Regions from separate parts of the Homo sapiens genome. Here all the other regions are linked to region 1. Evidence: promoter capture Hi-C in 16 types of primary human blood cells and fetal thymus (Javierre and others, 2016). All regions are on one chromosome and are shown on one strand. The core of a region is centred on a gene start or on the middle of the fragment in contact, and the rest is flanking DNA. Distances in the headings are between cores, read along the strand shown.

The links. The method cuts DNA at HindIII sites, captures the fragments that hold promoters and counts their contacts. A CHiCAGO score of 5 or more calls a contact.
Region 2: the fragment with the promoter of PMEL here is called in contact with a fragment that was not itself captured in region 1 in 3 of 17 cell types (fetal thymus, naive B cells and naive CD8 T cells); the score reaches 6.2 in fetal thymus.
Region 3: a contact is called between the fragment with the promoter of RPS26 here and a fragment that was not itself captured in region 1, in 1 of 17 cell types (fetal thymus). The highest score is 5.3, in fetal thymus.

Annotation. Positions count from the first base shown.
Region 1 is chr12:56,635,485-56,639,717 of GRCh38, forward strand. It overlaps ATP5F1B (ATP synthase F1 subunit beta), which reads right to left. Exons shown (of 10, transcript NM_001686.4): 9 at 3,622-3,823; 10 at 2,691-2,939. The coding sequence ends at 2,839. It also overlaps a transcript of BAZ2A not described here. Among named protein-coding and RNA genes, the nearest start is that of SNORD59B, 6.2 kb to the right of the region's middle. RefSeq lists enhancers at 1-370, 1,254-1,423, 1,397-1,908, 1,401-1,695. The HindIII fragment of the contact is 1,353 bases long and covers 1,434-2,786 here.
Region 2 is chr12:55,964,025-55,968,257 of GRCh38, forward strand. It overlaps PMEL (premelanosome protein), which reads right to left and starts at 2,018. Exons shown (of 11, transcript NM_001384361.1): 1 at 1,912-2,018. The coding sequence starts at 1,987. It overlaps CDK2 (cyclin dependent kinase 2), which reads left to right and starts at 2,806. Exons shown (of 7, transcript NM_001798.5): 1 at 2,806-3,100; 2 at 3,833-3,910; 3 at 4,025-4,145. The coding sequence starts at 2,985. RefSeq lists an enhancer at 2,497-2,576. The HindIII fragment of the contact is 16,386 bases long and covers 1-4,233 here.
Region 3 is chr12:56,040,668-56,044,900 of GRCh38, forward strand. RPS26 (ribosomal protein S26) reads left to right here and starts at 1,251. Exons shown (of 4, transcript NM_001029.5): 1 at 1,251-1,502; 2 at 1,758-1,935; 3 at 2,696-2,826; 4 at 3,452-4,030. The coding sequence starts at 1,500. The coding sequence ends at 3,487. RefSeq lists enhancers at 972-1,761, 1,210-1,539, 1,680-1,939 and a silencer at 1,000-1,059. The HindIII fragment of the contact is 3,314 bases long and covers 337-3,650 here.

The DNA.
Region 1 (4,233 bases), core at 860-3,359:
CTGTGGGGCCTTTGGAATCAGGAAGCCACGAAGGCAAAAACCTCCTATCCTCTCAACCTCAATCCTGCGTCCCACTCAGTGCCCTCAGTGACTGTAGTGTGGGGGCCATCAATAGCAGCCCTGGTGAGGCTGATGTGGGACCATGAGAATCGACTTTGGTTCAGTTTTCCCCCAACCACCACCACCCTTGCTTCAGTCTCTGGGGCAACAGGAAGCAGCTGCTCAGTGCAGCCCCCACCTGAAGGTGGGTCAAGGTGGGGGAGGAGAGAAGACAGACTTAAAAGGCCTTAGAAAAATGAGAGGGAGGGGAGGCATTTTAAAGACCTTCCAGCACTGCCAAAAGCCGGCTTTACTTTTGTGGGGGCTAGCAGTGAGTACTGTCAAAATTTCCTTGAATCTCAACAGCTTAAATGGGGAGGAGCAGGGGCAATCCTCCACGGGGCGGCGGGGAGGGGGCTGGGAAAGCCCTGGCCTAAGATGCGTCTCAGGCTCTTCCTTAGAACTGGGGCTTGCCCATACTCAGGATCCCGTGGTCGGCAGCCTCGCTAGCTGAGCCCTGTGCCCCCCGTCCCCCAGAGTCCTGTTTCCTCTCCTTCAGCCCCCAAATGAGCAAAGGTTAGGCCCCACCCCTGCTGAGTCAGCCAGGGAGGGAGTAGGCATCCCTCAGGCCTTCCCCGGGGCTGGTCCCCATACTCACCCATGTCAGGCTGGCACAGCTCCAGGCTGGGACCACCCAGCTCCTCACTGTCCTTGGGCCTCCACTTCACGTAAAGGTTGGTGTTGGATCCTCCCAAACTGTGAGCTGGGAACTAGCAAGAATCAAAAAGCCAGTGTATGCTTCCTGCGAACCACACAGCCTGAACTGCTGTAGGGTGATGTCCCTGTGTGACAGACTGGGGTGGGGAGGGAGGAGGGAAGGGCGGGGCTTTCTCTGGGTGGAGAGAGGGAGGAGGCGAGGACAGGGCAGACCAGGAGAAATATGGAGGAAGGTTAGAGAGCTGTGTTGACACTCCAGTGGCATGGTAGAAGAGGCCGGCAAAGGGGGAAGGAAACAAATAGTTGCAGCTACTGAGAGGGAGAAGGTTCTCGATAAACGCTGAAGGACGTGAACATGTTGGGGGAAGGGGTGGAGGGATGCAAAAGACCTTTAGGATTTCAGTTCCCAGGTCTGTATCGGGTGACGTGAGAAAACAAAGCAGAAAGGGCTGACCTGTACCCTAGGGCTTTTTCTACCAGCTTCTTACCCACTCCAGAGTCAGGACCTAGAGGAAGTGTCCACACCCCCATAACTCAGCATTTCCCCAAATCCCAGCTTTTCTGGGAGCAAACTACCAGCACAAGCAGCTCAGGGGCTCCACCTTCTGTCCAGATCATGACACAGGAGAGACTGCGGGAGAGGCTGCTGCCAAGGACGTCACAGGCAGATGGAAGGAAGCTTAGAGGCCCCTACTCCACCCCTGGCCCCGCGCCAAAAAGCCCTCCCCAACCTTCAGCCCCCAGGGGCCTCTGAATTGGAGCTCAGCTTGTCCCCGCCCAGCTTCTACCTAACTTGATGGACTCAGCGGGTGGAGCTTATAGATACAGGCTCCTCCCCAGGACAAAAGCCCCAGCTGGTCTGTAAACAGTCTTTAACTGAGAGCCACATCCCAGCAAATGGCCTTCATGGATTTGAAAATGGGATCAGAGTTCTTGCAGAGTCTCCAGTGCTACCGCGAGAGGGCAGTCGGATGGGTCTGGTCCCGGAAAAGAACACAAGAGGAACCCAATCTGACCTTGCACGCTTCTTTTAAATTGAAATGGTAAAATATATCTTCTACCCCTGCACCTCTCAGTCGGCTAAAATGAAGGGAAAATAACCTAACTTCATTAGTTTAGAAGCCCAAGCCAGCAACTCTGAAAATTGCTATTCCCTTGTAAGATTATCTTTTCTGGACTTTCATAAGGGGATCTTCACAGAGGGTGGACTAGGCCTTATGGTATTATATGCCTCTGCATAGCCTCAAGGAATCACAAGCAACTTTTATTTAGGCTTGCCCAAAATGTCAGGAAGTAGTTAAGTACACTTTCTGAAGACATGAAGGCCTAACCAAGATGTAGAGAACCCTTTTGATTCCATTTTAACAAAGATCAGTATTCTTCATCACTATTTCTTGAAAATTTAATTCATTAAACTCAGATTAACCCCTGGAAATAAGTTATTTCTAAAACGAGTTTTTCCCAATATGCCCTTCAAAAAAGTCCTATTTTTAACCAAGAAGTAGGGATGTGCCACATGGAATAGAGGCCAAAAAAAAAAAAAAATCAATTTGTATTGAACAAAAGGCCCAAAACTGAGGCCCTACTAAGATCACACTACCCACAGGAAACCCCTCACAAGAGGTACGGTTGTCCATCAACAAAAGAGAATGGCTATTTTTAAGGACCAATTTCAAACATACATGGCCCACTTCATGCTGAAACTGCTTCTTATAGCCACTCTAAAAATCTAATTGTTGAAAACAGTGCTGGTGATGTGAGACTACATACACCTGTAGCCCCAGCTACTCAGGAGACTGAGGTGGGAGATCTCGAGCCCAGGAGTTAGAGACCAGTCTTGGCAACACAGCCAGACACCGTGTCTCTAAAACTAAAATTAAATACATAACCCTTCAGTGTTGACTATGTTGTCAGAACCAAGAGAATCAGACAAATTCTGAGGGGTGTACATTTTATTGGAAACCTTAAATACTGTTCAGAAAGAATATATCTTCAATCAAGGCTCTTGTGCAGCCTACACAGAAAAATGAAGCTTTTTGGGTTAGGGGCAAGGAGAGAGACAGTACAGAGGACAAAGACCCCTCACGATGAATGCTCTTCAGCCAGCTTATCAGCTTTTGCCACAGCTTCTTCAATGGGTCCCACCATATAGAAGGCCTGTTCTGGGAGATGGTCATATTCACCTGTATGATGGGGGAGAAAAAAAAAAAGAGTAAGAAGCGGAGGGATATCAACTTTCTGCATCATGTAACATTCCTCACCACTTCAGGCCATCAGTTAGAATGTGATGAATTCATGTCATCTTAGAAAGCTTAAATTTCCCTCACAAATCAAATTTACAAGATATGATACAGTATGAATTAAGAACACATGGGCCAGGCACGGTGGCTTACACCTGTAATCCCAGCACTTTGGGAGGCCAAGGCAGGCGGATCACCTAAGGTCAGGAGTTCGAGACAAGCCCAGCCAACATGGTGAAACCCCATGGCTACTAAAAATACAAAAATTAGCCAGGCGTGGTGGCGTGTGCCTGTAATCCCAGCTACTTGGATGGTTGAGGCTGGAGAATCACTTGAACCCGGCAGGTGGAGGTTGCAGTGAGCCAAGATTGCACCAGTGTACTCCAGCCTGGGCGACAGAGACTCAGTCTCAAAAAATACATATAAAATAAAAGGGAGCTAGAGAATCAAGTAACAAATCACACTCAAATTAAATGTAGAGTATTTTCAAACAAAATCAATGGGTAAGTTTGTTTTTTAAATTAAAAAATATAATTAAGCATAGTATATTACATATATTGCTTGACGGTTGTTGGAATGGGACCACAGCACAGTAAACATTCAAGATTTGTACTCAAAATCTCACCTGCCAAAATCTGCTGGAATCCTTTGATGGTCTCCTTCAGGGGTACCAGCTTCCCCATATGACCTGTGAAGACCTCAGCAACCTGGAATGGCTGAGACAAGAAACGCTGTATTTTCCGTGCACGGGACACGGTCAACTTGTCTTCCTCAGAAAGTTCATCCATACCCAGGATGGCAATGATATCCTGGAGGGATTTGTAGTCCTATGAGAAAAAAGAAGACTGAGTTAAGTATTCTCATTCCTTTAATTTGGACAAGCTAACAAAGGGAAAGTTACATGCTAGGGGGCAGAGAAGGTGGTGGTGTTATGAGGGCCCTCAGCCAAGAAAGATCAGTGTCTTGTTCTCCATAGTCCTAGTTTGGTGCTGTTAGAAAAATATTGCATTCCGCCGGGCGCAGTGGCTCACGTCTGTAATCCCACCACTTTGGGAGGCCACGGTGGGTGGATCATGAGGTCAGGAGATCGAGACCAGCCTGACCAACTGATGAAACCTGGTCTCTACTAAAAATACAAAAAGTAGCCAGGCATGGTGGCGCGCACCTGTAATCCCAGGTACTCAGGAGGCTGAGGCAGGAGAATCGCTTGAACCTGGGAGGCGGAGGTTGCAGTGAG
Region 2 (4,233 bases), core at 768-3,267, 670 kb before region 1:
CTCACCCTGCGTGCAGTGGCACGTTCATCACTCACTGCAGCCTCAAACTCCTAGGCTGAAGCCATCTTCCTCATTAGCCTCCCAAGTGGCTAGGACCACAGGTGCTCACCACCAAGCCTGGCTAATTTTTTTTTTTTTTTTTTTTGAGACAGAGTTTCGCTCTTGTTGCCCAGGCTGGAAGGCTGGAGTACAATGGCACGATCTCAGCTTACTACAACCTCCGCCTCCCGGGTTCAAGCGATTCTCCTGCCTCAGCCTCCTGAGTGGCTGGGATTACAGGCATGCACCACCACGCCCAGCTAATTTTGTATTTTTAGTAGAGACTGGGTTTCTCTATGTTGGTCAGGCTGGTCTCAAACTCCCAACTTCAGCTGATCCACCTGCCTTGGTCTCGCAAAGTGCTGGGATTACAGGCGTGAGCCACCAAGCCTGGCCTAGGCCTGGCTAATTTTTTTACGTTTCGTAGAGACAAGGTCTCACTATGTTGCTCAGGCTGGTCTTGAACTCCTGGGCTCAAGCAATCCTATGACCACGGCCTCCCAAAGTGCTGGGATTACAGGTGTGAGCCACTACACCCGGCCTCCTTATCTCTTTTCTTTTCTTTTCTTTTTTTATTTTTTTGAGACAGAGTCTTGCTGTTGCCCAGGCTGGAATGCAATGGTGTGATCTCGGCTCACTGCAACCTCTGCCTCCCAGGTTCAAGCGATTCTCATGCCTCGGCCTCCCAAGTAGTTGGGATTACAGGTGCGTACCACCATGCCCAGCTAATTTTTGTATTTTTAGTAGAGATGGAGTTTCACCATATTGGCCAGGCTGGTCTGACCTCAAGTGATCCACCCGTCTCAGCCTCTCAAAGTGCTAGGATTACAGGCATGAGTTACTGTGCCGGGCCTCATCCCCTTTCTTTTTTTTTTTTTTTTTGAGACGGAGACTCGCTCTGTCACCCAGGCTGGAGTGCATTGGTGTGATCTTGGCTCACTGCAACCTCTGCCTTCTGGGTTCAAGTGATTCTCCAGCCTCAGCCTTCTGAGTAGCTGGGACTACAGGCATGTGCCACCATGCCCAGCTAATTTTTGTACTTTTAGTAGAGACGGGGGTTTCACCATATTGGCCAGGCTGGTCTCGAACTCCTGACCTCGTGATCCACCTGCTTCAGCCTCCCAAAGTGCTGGGATTACAGGCGTGAGCCACGGCGCCCGGCCTCATTCCCTTTCTAATGTGTGCTGTAACCCTAGTTGATTCTGCTGGGGGAGGATCTGGAATCATCTATTGAGCATCCCACCACTAGAACAAGAGAAGTCATAAGATACCCCATTCTTTCTCCACTTCCAACTCTCCTCAGAGCAGCACGGGACATTCCAGACCCTCTCACCACCCCACCCCCGCCCCTTGCTCCTGTCACGAGGCCCAATCCCCCAGAGCCCTTTCATGTGATGCTCAGCTGAGACCCCTCTGCCTATCTCTCCAGCCCCAGAACAAAAGGTCTGGGCTGTGTTCACCCGTACCCATCCCAAGAGGAGAGGATTGTATCTCCTTAGTGTTCTTACCCAATACCACATTCTCTGACTCCCCACTTTAAATCTCCTACCCCAAGAGACGTTTCCTAAAAGAGTCTCCTGCACATTTCACCCCTTTGGAGCCCGTGCTCCAGCTCACTGCCAAGGAAGCCTCAGAATCAGTGCCACAGAGACCTTCTATCCTTCTGCCCCTCCAAGCATATGAGATTATTTTCAGGCAAAATCCCAAATCTCCATGTAGGGAGGGAGCCCAGGTGCCCACATCCTCACTAAATCAAATGAGTGGGAGACGCCTGAAATATTGCCGCTATCTCCCATTAGGAGGACAGAAACCAGAGCAGGGGGAATTCATCCCCAAGTTCACACCTGCTCATGTCCACATATCCACACATACCTTTTGTAGCCCCCACAGCCAGCAAAGCACCTATCACAGCCAAATGAAGAAGGCATCTTTTTAGCACCAGATCCATTGTGTTCTTCCCTCCAGCAACCAAAGGCACTGGGGGGACTGGGATAGGCCCCTATATAAGAAAAGGGTGCTCATTTGCATAGCCCTTCCTCTTCTCCCTCAGAGAAGGCCTGGGAGGGGCCGGAGGAGAGGAAAAAGGAAAAACTGACAAAGGGATCCTGGTCCCTAGACATTGCTTTCCCATCCTGCTACTCAATGACAGTTTCTGGTTTCACTGGGTCACTCTCATCTTGATGCACTCCCGGGCAAGAGCTAACTGAAAGGCAGCTGCGTAACACATACCAGACACAACAGTTTATCATGGGAGAGTGAATTAAACCAGGAACTTCTCAAAAAGACAGAAACAGAACCCTGCATCCCAAAACAGAGACAGTGTCGGGGTATGCTATGAGGCAGAGGCAACGACTCCTCTGAGGCCCAGGATTCCTTTGCAACGAGATTCCCGGCTTCCTGGTTTCCAAAGGAGGCTCCTGGGCCAGGTGGAATTTAACCTTAGGTCGATACATATTTTCCCCAGGATTGGTGAAAATAGTGAGTTAGAAATCAAGAAATCCCTACAGACTAGAGACATAGGTAGGAAACTTGGACCCAAAGCAGGTACTTGGGAAGAGTGTTCAGCCGCCCCACCGGGGAAGAAACTTGTCTAGCCCCCAAGAACCAAACTTGCCTGGGGCGGGATCATTTGCGGGGAGGAGCGCTGGGCTCGCCCCCCGGCTCTGACGTTGACCAATAGAAAGGCCTGGGGGCGGAGCCAGGGAAACGCGGGAAGCAGGGGCGGGGCCTCTGGTGGCGGTCGGGAACTCGGTGGGAGGCGGCAACATTGTTTCAAGTTGGCCAAATTGACAAGAGCGAGAGGTATACTGCGTTCCATCCCGACCCGGGGCCACGGTACTGGGCCCTGTTTCCCCCTCCTCGGCCCCCGAGAGCCAGGGTCCGCCTTCTGCAGGGTTCCCAGGCCCCCGCTCCAGGGCCGGGCTGACCCGACTCGCTGGCGCTTCATGGAGAACTTCCAAAAGGTGGAAAAGATCGGAGAGGGCACGTACGGAGTTGTGTACAAAGCCAGAAACAAGTTGACGGGAGAGGTGGTGGCGCTTAAGAAAATCCGCCTGGACACGTGAGTGGCCTCTGTACCCGGGACTCCTAACTGGGGACCTCCTTGATTGTCCCCCCCAACCCCCCACGGGCGGGTAGCCGTCCAGGGACCGGAAGAGAGCAGGGAGGGACTTCTTTAGAAGTGGAGAGGTGGGTTGGGGGCCAGTAGAAGGTGAAGAGTATACTTATACTCCCTGGGGAGAGTATAGGGTGGTGTGGAATCCATGGAAAACTTTCTTCCCAAACTGAGCCGGATCGTGCCCCCAAATGTGCGACTACAGACTCGGGGAGAGAAAGGAGGTCTCTGAGATGAGGTCCAAGACTCTCCATGGAGTGGAGTTATGTGGGAACCGGCGAGAATCGCCTTTCTGAATGAAGAGCCCTCTTCACTGCCCCACCCTCACCTTAGAATTCTCTCCTCTTTCCAAAGAATGGCAGTTGAACCTCACTGGCCCCTCTGGGGAGGCTGGGGGCTACTCCTGCATTTTTTCCCCTCCATTACAGTCTCCCTGCTTCACCTTCACCAGGCGGCTTTACTTACCTACCCCTGGGAAAAGAGGAGATAATGGCCTTAATATATCCAAAAACCACACCCTGACTACCCAAGAATTAGCTCTTACCATCACCCTTTCTCTTCTCTCACTTTCCTAGGGGGTGCTGGGTGGTGTCTCCTTGGGGGAAAGAAATGACTAGGTGGGGGGGAAAGGAATATTTGTAACCATATTCCCATCTCTGCTTTCCCAACCTCTCCAAGTGAGACTGAGGGTGTGCCCAGTACTGCCATCCGAGAGATCTCTCTGCTTAAGGAGCTTAACCATCCTAATATTGTCAAGTAAGTATGCGTCTGAGAGGTGATCCAGCTGGAAAGGAGGATAAGTTCTGTCTGTACAGTGTGGGCATTTCTCTCTCTCACACACCTCCATTTCCTCAAACTTTCCTTCTCTAGGCTGCTGGATGTCATTCACACAGAAAATAAACTCTACCTGGTTTTTGAATTTCTGCACCAAGATCTCAAGAAATTCATGGATGCCTCTGCTCTCACTGGCATTCCTCTTCCCCTCATCAAGGTAATGCTTCTCATCAGCTCCTCTCATCATGGGCATGTCTTGGGGGACTGGTGGCAGGCAATTCAGGGTGATATTTTATGATTTTGGC
Region 3 (4,233 bases), core at 1-2,500, 600 kb before region 1:
TATTTTTAGTAGAGGTGGGGTGTCACTATGTTGACTAGGCTGGTCTTGAACTCCTGACCTCAGGTGATCCGCCTGCCTTGGCCTCCCAAAGTGTTGGGATTACAGGCGTGAGCCACTGCACCCAGCCTAAGGCTTAAGTCTTTCCGATGGCTCTTCAGAGGTAAATGGAGCTTACACATAATCTTTCAATTAGGGGTCAGATTCACTAATGAGTGGTGAAATAATTTTCGTGGTTTTTGATCAGCATTTATTAAAATAGAGAACAGAAAGATTAAGTAAAAATAAAGAATAGAACATACCAGCACACCTATGACAAGGGTAAGTATCGTTTCATAAAGCTTGTGTTTCAGTTTTGCATGTGCATGTAATCGTGTTTGTGTGTGTACTGGGTACCAATGTAAAATGTATTCGTGCTATGAATCTGGGTGAAAAACGTTTAAGTCATTAGTCCAGGCTATTCCTCCATCCATTTGTTAGGTGACATACAGCATAGTACAGCGGAGCCAGAATACCTACTGCACGTCAGTTCTTCAATCTTTTTTTTTAATTGATTTATTTATTTTTGAGACAGAGTTTCGATCTTTTTACCCAGGCTAGAGTGCAGTGGCGCGATCTCGGCTCACTGGAAACTCCGCCTCCCAGGTTCAAGATTCTCCTGTCTTAGCCTCCTGAGTACCTGGGATTACAGGCGCCCACCACCAGGCCGGGCTAAATTCTTCAATCTTTAAAGTGAGGATAATAATAGTAGCTACCTATAGGCTTGCTCAAAGTTAAATGAGTTAATATTTATAAAGACGCTTACCACAGGGCCAGGCACTGTGCCAGAGATAAAAAGATGAATGAGAAATAGCCCCAGCCTCAATGCACTTCATTGTGGGATTTTCTCCATATTGGAAGGAGGGATTCACAAAATGCTTGTTTCCTCTCAGGCCTTCCTCTTCGTAATCCTACACCTACCTAGTAGAAGGACTGTCAGAGAAATGAGCCCAGGGCGTCCCCCGGTGGCGCAGCGCCGCCTTCGGTCTAAGCACTTGGGGCAGGGGGGAAGGGGGGGAGGGGGGAGCCTCTTGGCTTCGCACTACAATTCCCACCAAGCATCTGTCCCTCTCTGGCCTCTAATAACGAGTGCGCCTTGTGGTCCAGCGTCTGGCAACTTTCACGCCTAGCGTCGCGTATACCGGAAAACTGCATCGTCCAGAATTGCTTCCGAGTCGGCGCGGCGCAAGGCTTGCTGGGAGACACATAACCTCGATTTTCTTCCGCCATCCGGCTAAATAGTCCCATGTGCACTTTGTTCCATGGATAAATAAACACTAGGAACGCATTTCCACCCTAGATTTCAGCAGAAATGCTGAATGTAAAGGAATATTTGAGTAAAGTGAGTTGCCGTTCTTGAAGCCCGTCTCCTAAGGATTCTCCCGGTGTCCGCGTAGGGATCTCATGCTATATAGGAGGGCCCTGCCAGGCACCGTCTCCTCTCTCCGGTCCGTGCCTCCAAGATGGTGAGTCTTCTTGCGTGGTGAGGGTGGGGGTTCGGGTGCAGACTCTGGGATTGTGGGGAAGTGAGAGCCTGGAGCACGGCTGAGGGGTGGACCGAGTGTACATTTCATTTGCTCTGGGGGTCGGCGGGATTTGCGGAGAAACAGGAGATCCGAGCGGCGCCTTCCTGGAGGCTGCCGGTGCGGCTTGTGGCCGGAAAGGGACTGAGGCTGGGTGAGTTGCGCCGTTTTCCTAACAGTTTTCCCATCCTGTCGCAGACAAAGAAAAGAAGGAACAATGGTCGTGCCAAAAAGGGCCGCGGCCACGTGCAGCCTATTCGCTGCACTAACTGTGCCCGATGCGTGCCCAAGGACAAGGCCATTAAGAAATTCGTCATTCGAAACATAGTGGAGGCCGCAGCAGTCAGGGACATTTCTGAAGCGAGCGTCTTCGATGGTAAGTGGGTCACCGGCGCGAACTGTGTGAGGATCCCAGTATCTTAAAGCCTTCGCCCAACTTCGCCCTTTTGGAGGCTCTGTTCTTTGGAGCCTCTCAGGCAATTTCCACGTATTTAAGGTTGTTACTGGTAGAAGAGAATTCTCTTGTTTGCCGTTTTGATTCTTTTCTGGGCAGAGGGTGACTTTGTGATAGAGTGCACAGCCTTTACTCTGAGGTAAAGGTTTGCCTGTTTCGGTTATGAGATTGCAAAAACTAGAAACTTGGTAAATTTGACAATTCTTGTGCTATTGATTATTTGAATATTTGTGAAAATATACAGGTGAGGAAGAATGTCTTCAACGTTTCGAGAATGGAGGCCGTCTAGTTTGGTGTGCAAGGATGATGTTTGGAGCAATAAGAACGTCGCTTTGTTTTTTTCCTTTTATAGAAAGAGCAAGGTTCAGGGTAGGCATTAGGGCGGGTGTAGGTGTAGAAGGAACTGGATTATTGGTTTATTGCATTTAGAATGTCAGTCTGGTCCTTGCGGTGTCAAGATGAACTCACGTGGGATGTTAATTCACTTGTAAAACTGAGGGTTATACATATGTGCTCAGGTATTGGGCTGAACAGGTGCTTTGGGGGTGCTTTTATGTGCCCGACAGGCATTTAAATAGGTTTAGTTTTAATTGACGTAAACATGTAAGGTGCTCTTCATTCATGTAACAAAAAAGCAAGGTAGGTATATAATACCAGTATAACTCTATTTTCTATTCCTTAGCCTATGTGCTTCCCAAGCTGTATGTGAAGCTACATTACTGTGTGAGTTGTGCAATTCACAGCAAAGTAGTCAGGAATCGATCTCGTGAAGCCCGCAAGGACCGAACACCCCCACCCCGATTTAGACCTGCGGTGAGTATTTTAAAAGGAGAATGGAAGCCAGGGGAGTGATGGTTAAAATTTCATCCTGGAGGGTCAGGGTGTCCTATACCTGTAACCTCAACACTTTGGGAGGCTGGGACAAGAAGATTGCTAGAAACCAGCAGTTCAAGACCCCATCTCTTCAAAAAATATTGAGAAGGAAGCCAAGCATGATAGTGTGAACCTATAGTCTGGCTGCTCGAGAGGCTGAGGCAGGAGGATCACTTGAGCCCAGGAGTTTGAGGTTGCAGTGAGCTATGATTATACCACTTGCGCTCCAGCCAGGGCAAAAGTGAGACCTTGTCTCTTAAAAAAAAAAAAAAGTTGCTTCCTCCTGTGGTGCAGGGGGTATCAAATTAAGGTCTGTGCCTCAGGTTAAGCTGTAAGGCAGGTGAGACCCACACCTGAACATGCTTAGAGACACTGCAAAGCAGTGTTAGAATCAGAATTGGTTTTTAGGATGCAGAGTAGTGTTCTCCCTCCACCTCTATCAGCTTCCCATGCATTTGTAGCCTGAATACATCAGTTTGTGAGAGGATGGTGGTCAAGTTCTTTGGGGGAAGGGAGTCTTGGATCCATGGGTTTTAATTTACTCTTTTGTTTCTTTGTCTTTCAGGGTGCTGCCCCACGTCCCCCACCAAAGCCCATGTAAGGAGCTGAGTTCTTAAAGACTGAAGACAGGCTATTCTCTGGAGAAAAATAAAATGGAAATTGTACTTAATATTGCATGTTAAGTGTATCTGTGCCAGATAAGGTGGGGATTTTGTGTGTTAGACCAAGTGTGAAGTGACACACATTATTTTCATGGGGAAGAAAGCTTATTCATGTAATTTAATTTTTTTCTTTTTTTTTTTTTTTTTTTTGAGACGGAGTCTTTGTCGCCCAAGCTGAATTGCAGTGGCGTGATCTCAGCTCACTGCAACCTCCGTCTCCCGGGTTCAAGTGATTCTCCTGCCTCAGCTTCTTGAGTAGCTGGGATTACAGGTGTCTGCCACCATGCCTGGTTAATTTTTGTATTTTTGGTAGAGATGGGGTTTCACTATGTTGTCCAGGCTGGTCTTGAACTTCTGACCTCAGTTAATCCACCAGCCTTGGCCTCCCAAAGTGCTGGGATTACAGGCTTGAGCCACCTCGCCTAGCTATTTATGTAAATTAAACTTTAATTGTGGTCGTATGGTTGGCCTCACAATTCGCATAGCTGTGTGAAATGGAGATTAGGCATCTGAATTTTGGATTTAACCACATCAAGTTTAAGTTGGCATCCTAAAAATGGGTAAACATTAGGAGAATGAGGAAAAGCTATTAGTTGAGTGAGGAGCACATTGGGAAGTGACCTAAACTGAGGTGTTTATACCCCTGGAGGGGGAACTTGAATAGTGGATGTATGACTTGGATAGC